Linked DNA regions of Homo sapiens: regions 1 and 3 are each linked to region 2. Evidence: promoter capture Hi-C in 16 types of primary human blood cells and fetal thymus (Javierre and others, 2016). All regions are on one chromosome and are shown on one strand. Each heading gives the region's core, a stretch centred on a gene start or on the middle of the fragment in contact. The rest is flanking DNA. Distances are from core to core; before and after follow the strand shown. Region 1 overlaps LOC112268307. Region 2 holds the start of PJA1 (praja ring finger ubiquitin ligase 1). Region 3 overlaps MTMR8 (myotubularin related protein 8).

Evidence for each region. Contacts are between HindIII fragments. The CHiCAGO score rates a contact against its expected background, and 5 or more counts as called.
Region 1: a fragment that was not itself captured here is called in contact with the fragment with the promoter of PJA1 in region 2 in 2 of 17 cell types (activated CD4 T cells and total B cells); the score reaches 7.1 in activated CD4 T cells.
Region 3: a fragment that was not itself captured here is called in contact with the fragment with the promoter of PJA1 in region 2 in 1 of 17 cell types (naive CD8 T cells); the score reaches 5.4 in naive CD8 T cells.

What each region holds. Positions count from the first base shown.
Region 1 is chrX:64,208,055-64,210,754 of GRCh38, forward strand. All of the region lies in intron 2 of LOC112268307, which reads left to right. It also overlaps the pseudogene RN7SL799P. Among named protein-coding and RNA genes, the nearest start is that of AMER1, 3.7 kb to the left of the region's middle. The HindIII fragment of the contact is 784 bases long and covers 890-1,673 here.
Region 2 is chrX:69,164,162-69,166,999 of GRCh38, forward strand. PJA1 (praja ring finger ubiquitin ligase 1) reads right to left here and starts at 1,292. Exons shown (of 2, transcript NM_001032396.4): 1 at 1,211-1,292. The HindIII fragment of the contact is 4,972 bases long and covers 1-1,696 here.
Region 3 is chrX:64,390,929-64,393,628 of GRCh38, forward strand. The region is part of intron 1 of MTMR8 (myotubularin related protein 8); the gene reads right to left. Among named protein-coding and RNA genes, the nearest start is that of MTMR8, 3.2 kb to the right of the region's middle. The HindIII fragment of the contact is 2,438 bases long and covers 210-2,647 here.

The DNA.
Region 1 (2,700 bases), core at 32-2,531, 5.0 Mb before region 2:
AACACAGCTTCTTGTTTGCATAGCTCACTTCTCTCCAGGGACGATGTATGGAAAGACCAAGTGTGTGCATAAACTTGCACCTCAAAATGCCTCCTCATAGAGAGAGTACTGTAAGACCCCATTCCACATGCTGACTGACACGTGGTCAACTTGCTTAGTCAAGACAGGCACTGGTTGTGAGGAGCTGGAAATCTTTCTTAAGTTTGTTTACCTGCAAAATGGAGATAATCCTCGTGCTGCCTAGTGTCTTGTGGCTGCGGTGAAAAGCCCATAAGAACAGATGTGTGGGCTGTGTGGAGGCAACTTCATAAACTCAAGTAGACACATCATTACAGGGCACATCATTACAATGCTCATTTCTTTCTTCACCAAGTATTCCATAGTCATTTCCTCTATGCCAGGCCTGTTGATAGTTATTGGGAGAAGCAGTACAGTGTTAACCTTTTTGAGGCACCTGGGTATGGAGTTCTGAGAGGAACTGAAATCTACACTAGAGGTCTGGCAAAGGTGTTCTGGAGCATTGCAGATGAAGAGACTCCTTCTCCCCAGGGTGGCAAGGGGTATCAGAGAAAAGTTCTATGGAGGATAGCTTTGACGGTTGGGTCAAGTCAGAAAAGTAGGGGAAGGATTCCTGCCCAAGCCAAAGCCCATCAGTGAGAGGGTATGGTGGGTTGGGCAAGAGCTACAATTCTGGATGGCTGTGGCTAAGTATTTGTGTGGTGGGGAGAGGAAGAGCTGGACATTAGACTAGAAAGAAAGGCCTGGGGCCAAAGTGTAAAAGACCATGACTGCCTGGGTAAATTGAGGCTCAACTAGCTAAGTTCATCTTTTCCAGGAAAGTGGTATGTTGTAGTGGCTCTGCCACCAGACTGCCTGGGCTGGGATGTGAAGCTTGCCACTTAGGAGCAGTATGATCTGGGCAGGTCAATTTACCTCTCTGAGTCTCAACATTTTTTTCTGCAAAATGAAAATAATAGCACCCATGTCAGAGAATTGTGGTAAGAATTGAGTAGTCCATATGAAGTGGCACAGAGGCTAGTACATAAGATGGTATCAATAAATGTTAGTTACTGATGCTGTTATTATTATTGCTATCCTTCTGATCCAATGTACAGATCTTCAAAGTTATGGAACTGCTAATATGACTTTGAAACCAGTTTTTGTTTTGTTTTTGGTTTTTTTTTTGAGACGGAGTCACGCTCTGTCGCCCGGACTGGAGTGCAGTGGAGCGATCTCGGCTCACTGCAAGCTCCGCCTCCCGGGTTCACGCCATTCTCCTGCCTCAGCCTCCCGAGTAGCTAGGACTACAGGTACCTGCCACCACACCCAGCTAATTTTTCGTATTATTAGTAGAGGCGGGGTTTCACTGTGTTAGCCAGGTTGGTCTAGATCTCCTGACCTCATGATCCATCTGCCTTGGCCTCCCAAAGTGTTGGGATTACAGGCGTGAGCCACCACACCTGGCCGAAACCAGTTTTTAATATAAACACACATGAGCCTATGATTCCTTATGAACAGACTCACTTTATTGTGCAGACCCAGACTCAGTTTCCCAGGGCAGAATATTTTGTTCATCTTCATATCCTCAGCACTCAACAGAGAGTTTGGCAGAAACTTGTTGATGAGTATGTATTTACTGAACATGAAATGAGGCATTTTCAGGCCTAATATCAAGCTTAAGTGCCAGCATCCACCAATGAAGTGTGATGTTACCACTCATTGGGCATCTCCTTTGTGCCAGGCCCTGTGTTAAGTGACACACTCATTACCCAGAATGATGGACTACACACAGCTTCTGGTCTCAAGGGCAACCAGTCTAGTGGAAGAGGAAGAAAACTCCTGAGTTTCTTACTTGGACAAGGGACTGCTGGATGGTGTTGTCATCCACTGAACTGAGTAATATAGGAACAGAATTAGGAAAATGTGGCCAGGTGCGGTGGCTCACGCCTGTAATCCCAGCACTTTGGGAGGCCGAGGTGGGCGGATCACAAGGTCAGGAGATCAAGACCATTCTGGCTAACACGGTGAAACCCCGTGTCTACTAAAAATACAAAAAATTAGCCGGGCGTGATGGCGGGCGCCTGTAGTCCCAGCTACTTGGGAGGCTGAGGCGGGAGAATGGCATGAACCTGGGAGGCAGAACTTGGAGTGATCCTTGATCGCTCCACTGCACTCCAGCCTGGGCGACAGAGCGAGACTCCGTCTCCAAAAAAAAAATGATTTTGTTTAGGACATACTGAATTTGACTTGTCAGAAATCCCACCTCAGGGCCTTTGCACTGGCTGCTCCCTCTGCCTACAGTGTTTGTCCTCTGAATATTGGCATAGTTTGCACCTCATTTCCTTCAGGTGGCTGCTCAAATGTCATTAATAGTGACACCTTCACTGAACAGTTGATATATAAAATAGCAATCCCCATTTCCACCCCCTTCACTCTCCAATTCTTTAATAGGCCTTTTTTTCTTATCCACAGCATTTACCACCTCTTGGTATATTTTTTATTGTTATTTATTTTAGAGTCATTTTTAAATTTTCTCTTTCTTATCATGAAAATGGAAGCTCCGTGAGGGATAGACAATGAACAAATATATACATAAAATATACAGTAGGTCAGATGGCAATAAATGTGATGGATATCCTGGGGCAGTGGCACATGCCTGTAGTCCCAGCTACTTGGGAGGCTGAAGCAGGAGGATAGCTT
Region 2 (2,838 bases), core at 42-2,541:
GAGAGGGATGTGCTTGAGGTGGATGGAACAGAGGCAGGCAATCAAAGAATGATGCCTGCCTGTGTGGATATGGCAAGCAGGGAGGCAGGTTGTGTCCCCGTAGAAGGATTTATGTGAGTGCGAGTGTGTGCACCTCAGGGACCAGCAAAAGAGAGCTGTGTCTGACACACGTGGCAGACAGAGCAATAGAGGAGAGCATTTGAGAAGGGGGTATGAATGAGCACATGTGGCTACATATGTATGTCACTGGCCAGCGATAGAAGGATGTCCTTATGTGTGTATATGACAGGAAGGAAGAAGGAGGGCAGCCGGAGGGGGTGTGTGAATAGGCATGTGTTCGCGAGAGCACGCAGAGGCCGAGCAGGGAGGGGGCCGGTGCTAGAGGTGTGTATGTGGTAGGCGGATAGAGGAGGGGGAAGGCATGGGAGGGTGTGAGGGTGTGAGGGTGTGTGAGAGGGTGTGTGCTGCGTGTGCCTGCGCATGCGCGGGGGAGGGGAAGCACTGGAACCTTGAGGATGGAGGGGCAAGGAGGGGGCTGCAATGGAAGGCTTCTGTGCGGGGGCGCGTGCTCGCGACACACGGGGGGTGGGGGGTAGGGGGGACGCAATGTCATAAAAAGAGGTGGGAAAAGGCCATCAGCTCAAACGGGAGACCCCAACCGATGTGGCAGGGGAGAGGGAAAATGAAAGAAAAGGGCGTGCGTGGGTCTAGTTTTCCCTGAGAATAATTATTTTTTCCTTCCAATTTTTTCCCTGGGAACAGTATTTTTACCTAAAAATCTTAACCATTTACCATTTGGCAAAACAACAGCAAAATATGGGAAGAAAGGCCACGGAGTGCTCCGCAAAGGGGCCGAGGAGGGAAGAAGGAAGGAGAGGGGAGGAGAGGCAGGGAGAAGTGGGAGAGGGCCGCGACCACCACTGCCCTCCCAATAGCGATGAAAGCCACTCGAGTGGGGACCGCGCCACACCAAAGGGGTTCCGGCAGCGGAAGATGTGGCCCCAGAACAGGCCGATGGAGGACATGGGCCTCACTCTGCAGTCAGGTCCCGCGTCCGCCCCACCCCTTCCCGAGGGGCGAACCTGAAAAGCAGTTCCCAGGAACCCCCCAAAATCCTCGCCCCCGTGCCCGGCCACTCGCCCCGCGCCCGGCCACTCGCGCCACCGCCAGCGCCCGGATGAATCGAGGAAACAATCAGCCTTTCACTCACCAAGTCCAGAAAGCCACACGCTTTTCAGAGAAGCAGAGCTCTCGGATCTCCGACCGCCACGACCGCCAGAGCCGCTGCTCCCGGTCCCGAGCTCCTCCCCCGCCAGACAGCAGCGGGGCGGGCGGCGACTGCGGCGGCGGAAGTGATTGTGAAGTCAGCTGGAGCCCGCCTCCTTGATGTGGCGGGGGCGGCAGCTGCTCTCCACAAATCAGGGTGGGCCCGAAAGCATTATTTCATCTTAAATGATGAAATCGTCAAGGATACAGAAAAGGACAGCGAAAAATGTCACAAACACCCAGCTTTAACTAATGTTAAACATTTAGCTATATTGCCTTCTGGTTTTTTAATAAATAAAATAAAATCTGCAAATTCTTTCTGATTAAGTCCAATGTGAGAGTAATTACGTTACTACATCACATCCTATGTTACGTGTTATGGTTGTACCGAAAGTATTAAAACTGTGAAACCATATTTAGGGTTGCAGTAAGCTTAAATTTTTTTTAACCTGATGGTTAAAGCAAATTGAAGCTGTTTATGTTGAATTTGTTGCTGCTAATCACAAAACCAAGCTTCTCTGTCCAAGAGATCATAGGACACAACACAGGTTCATATTCTGTTATTGCATTGCAGTTAAAAATATTGTAGTTACGCCTTTTGGATTTATACCATTTTACTGAATTCTGAAGTCTTTAAATTGCGCTTTATAATGGAACTCTAGTATTTACAGCCAATGTAAACATTTCCCATGTTCACAACAGTAGCAAAGTTTTGTTCTTACTGGAAACAAAATGCATAATAGAACAAAAATCTTAGGGGTAACAACATAATAGAAATAAAATGTATAACTTTCAAACCATTAAAGTAATAATATGTGGAACAAAGAGAAAAACTCATTCTTAACAAAGGTCAAGAAATGTTGCTGGGGGGGTACAAAAAAAAGGATGCAAAAAGAAAACAAAAATGCAGGAATCCAAATATATCAGCATGCATTATGGGTTAACATCTCCTAATAAAAACCAAACTCTTATTTTGAGCATTTTGTTTTTAAAAGCTAAGTTATATTCTATTTATGTGAGTTTCACCTAAAGCAGAAATAGGAATAAAAAATATATGAGAGTAAAATACTAGCAGAAAAAAGGGAGAGAGGGAATGAGGGAAGGAAAGAAGCAAAAAAAAAAAAAAGGAAGGAAAGGAAGGAGGAAACAAACTCGTAACAATATCAATATCCTAAACATCGAGAACTCAAAGTAAAAAGAACTAAAGAGAACAAAACAGGTTGCTTTATTCACTGAGAAAGATATGACAAGCTGGTGGTGTGTGCCTGTAGTCCCAACTACTTAGGAGGCTGAAGCAGGAGGATTGTGTGAGCCCAGGAGGTTGAGGCTGAAGTGAGTGAAGATCACGCCACTGCACTCCAGCCTGGACAACCAAGCAAGATGCCATCTCAAAATGATGATGATAATAATAACAATAATAGAACTTCATTGGTGAGAAATCTGAAACTATCAAATTTTTTAATGGAGATACATTTTCATCTAGCAATTCTACTTCTAGTCAATTGCTCTATTGTGTGTTCTATTGAGACACACAAATGGAGAAAGATATGTGAATAGGAGTGTAGCAAGATA
Region 3 (2,700 bases), core at 179-2,678, 4.8 Mb before region 2:
ATTACAGGCTTGAGCCAACCAGGCCCAGACAAATTCACTCTTTTAAGTATACAATTCAATTAGTTTTAGTAAATTTGGAGTTGTACAACCATCATCACAATGTAATTTTAGAACATTTCCATCATTCCAAAAAGAAACTTCATCCCCATTCCTCATTTAGATAATCTTTTAAAAGGTCCTTTCTAACTTTTCCATTTCTAGACTTATAAAGCTTTAGTAGCTCCTTGGCTATTTACAAGTTCAAATTCCTCAGTGTAACATTCAAAGTCCTTTACAATCTATAAAATCTTTCACTGTCTTTTTTTTCTACCCACACAAATGTAGAAATTACTTTTTTTGTGTTAAAACATTCCTTAATGAGCTAGCAATTATTTATGTGAAGGAGAGTCCAGAAAACAGATTTTTGACTAAATTATCCTTGTCCTTGATTAAAGAGATTCATGAATTAAACACATAACACTATTCTCTAGAGTAGTTATTGAGGTCTAAGAGGCTGTAAACTTGGAAGAGCTTCTCCCTGCCTGTCAGGCTGCTCCCATCAGATCACAAGACAGAATAGACATATTTTTCAGTCTCTTTCATTTTTGGACCTTGTGCTTGGCATCTCATCACCTTACTTAAGAGATCCCAGAGGGCAGTTGCCATATCCATATCCAGTTATGTATCCTTGACTCCCAATGTGATATTCTGCATATAATAATTAATAACGATGATGATAGTGACTGGTAGCTAAATTAAGCATCTACCATGTGCCAGACATTGTTCTAAGCACTTTACAGATACTAACTTATTTAATTCTTATAACAACCCTGTGAGATAGGTACTATTTTCAACACCATCTTATAGATGAAGAAACTGAGGCAAAAGAGATTATATATTTGCCAAAATCACAAAGCTAGTTAAGTAGCAGAGTTGAGATTTTATTTCAGACAGCCTGGCTCCAAAGTATGCACTCTTAAACCACAGCAAATTGTCAAACCAGTTGAAGCTCAATAAATGTTAATTGCATAAAGCCTTATTATTAAGGTTCCATTCCAGGAAAGAAAAGTAATTAAGAATTCTGGGTGCCAACTGACACAGATGTAATGAGGGTAGGGAAAAATACATAGAACAAATTCTGATTCAGATAGGAGAGTCACCAAACTTTAGGGCAGGTCTGAGACGCTCCAAAAATGGTTGTTGAACCCTAAGCTATATCTTAGATAGATCTGTTCTCATACATAGGTCGTGGGAATGTAAAATTGGTAGTGTCTAGATGAACATATGCATATTCTACGGCCCAGAAATTCCACTCCGATGGCATATACCAACAAAAATGTATATTTAAATCTGTCAAAATGTACTATTGGCAAAAGGCAGAAACTGGAAATTCCCCATCAACAGAAGAATGGATAAATCACATGTGGCATGTTAACAAAACATAATATAGCAATGAGAATGATCTATAACTTCAAGAAATAATATGGATAAATCTTTCAAACAATGTTGAGCAAAAGAAGTCAAACACAAAAGAGAATGTATTAATCCATTTATATTAAGTACAACAAAAGAGTAAAATGAATGTATCCTGTTAGAGGTCAGTATAGTAGTTTACCCTTGGGAGGGGTATTGACTGGAAGGGGGCATGAAGTGGACTTCTAGTAATGTTCTTTTTTTTGTTTGTTTGTTTGTTTTTTGTTTTTGTTTTTTTTAATCTCAGTAGCGGTTGCACAGGTGTGTCCAGTTTTTAAGTTTATAGCACAATGAATACTTCCAATCTATACACTTTTCTTTATGTGTACTGTACTTCAATAATTTTTTAAAGTCTTCCTGAGTAAAGAAAAAGACTCAAGCAAGAGCCAAAAATAAAAGTCACTTTTGTACTTGACATACACAACTAATGACTGACAAACTCAAAGTTATCCCTTTGACCTGAGATGGACAAGGCAGATGTCTCTCTCTTTTATGGAAACAGTGAGTTAACAAAAGGGAGGCCATTTTAATCCCGAGCCATTAATGCAACCCTAATCCTTTCTAGAAACTGAGAAAAAAACAGACTCACAGCAGCATACCACCTGTGGGCACTCACAGCCCTGCCAGGCACCAAAACAAATACTAATTCTGCTTAAAGAATCAAGTCTTCATTTGGAGTTTTTATTTATATTTCAAGACTAATCACACTATCCATGCAGTACAAATGGAGTCTGACCATGATGCAAGTTTAAGTTTTCTTGAGCACGAACCCTATCCCAGCACCAGTCTGAGCACTCCTATCTTTGTTTATTAGGCAAGCATTCCACATCTATGGATCTCAGTTTCCTCATCTGTAACATGGGAATAATAATAGTATCTCCTAATAGGTTATTGTAAGGATTCAAGGCATATTTCAGGTAAAATATTGAACACAGTGCCTGTCACATAGTTAAATATTCTATACGTATTAGCTGCTATTATAATTTTCATATGGGCCCGTTAATGGTTTCTTCTCCCTTCCAATTTCCATAGAGCCAGCCCAGTTTATAGCTTCAATCCCTAACAGGGGAATTTTAATATTTTAACACTCAAGGACAGGAGCAGTTCTGCCTCCCCATCTTCCCCAGTTGTCAAAAGAGAGAAAAAAGGAGTATTCGAGTGAGCTGATTTTGAACTAGACAAGTAACGTGGCCCAAGCTTAGGTGGGTTGGGAGAAGAGGGAGTCTGGACAACAGAAGTTCCTTTCCT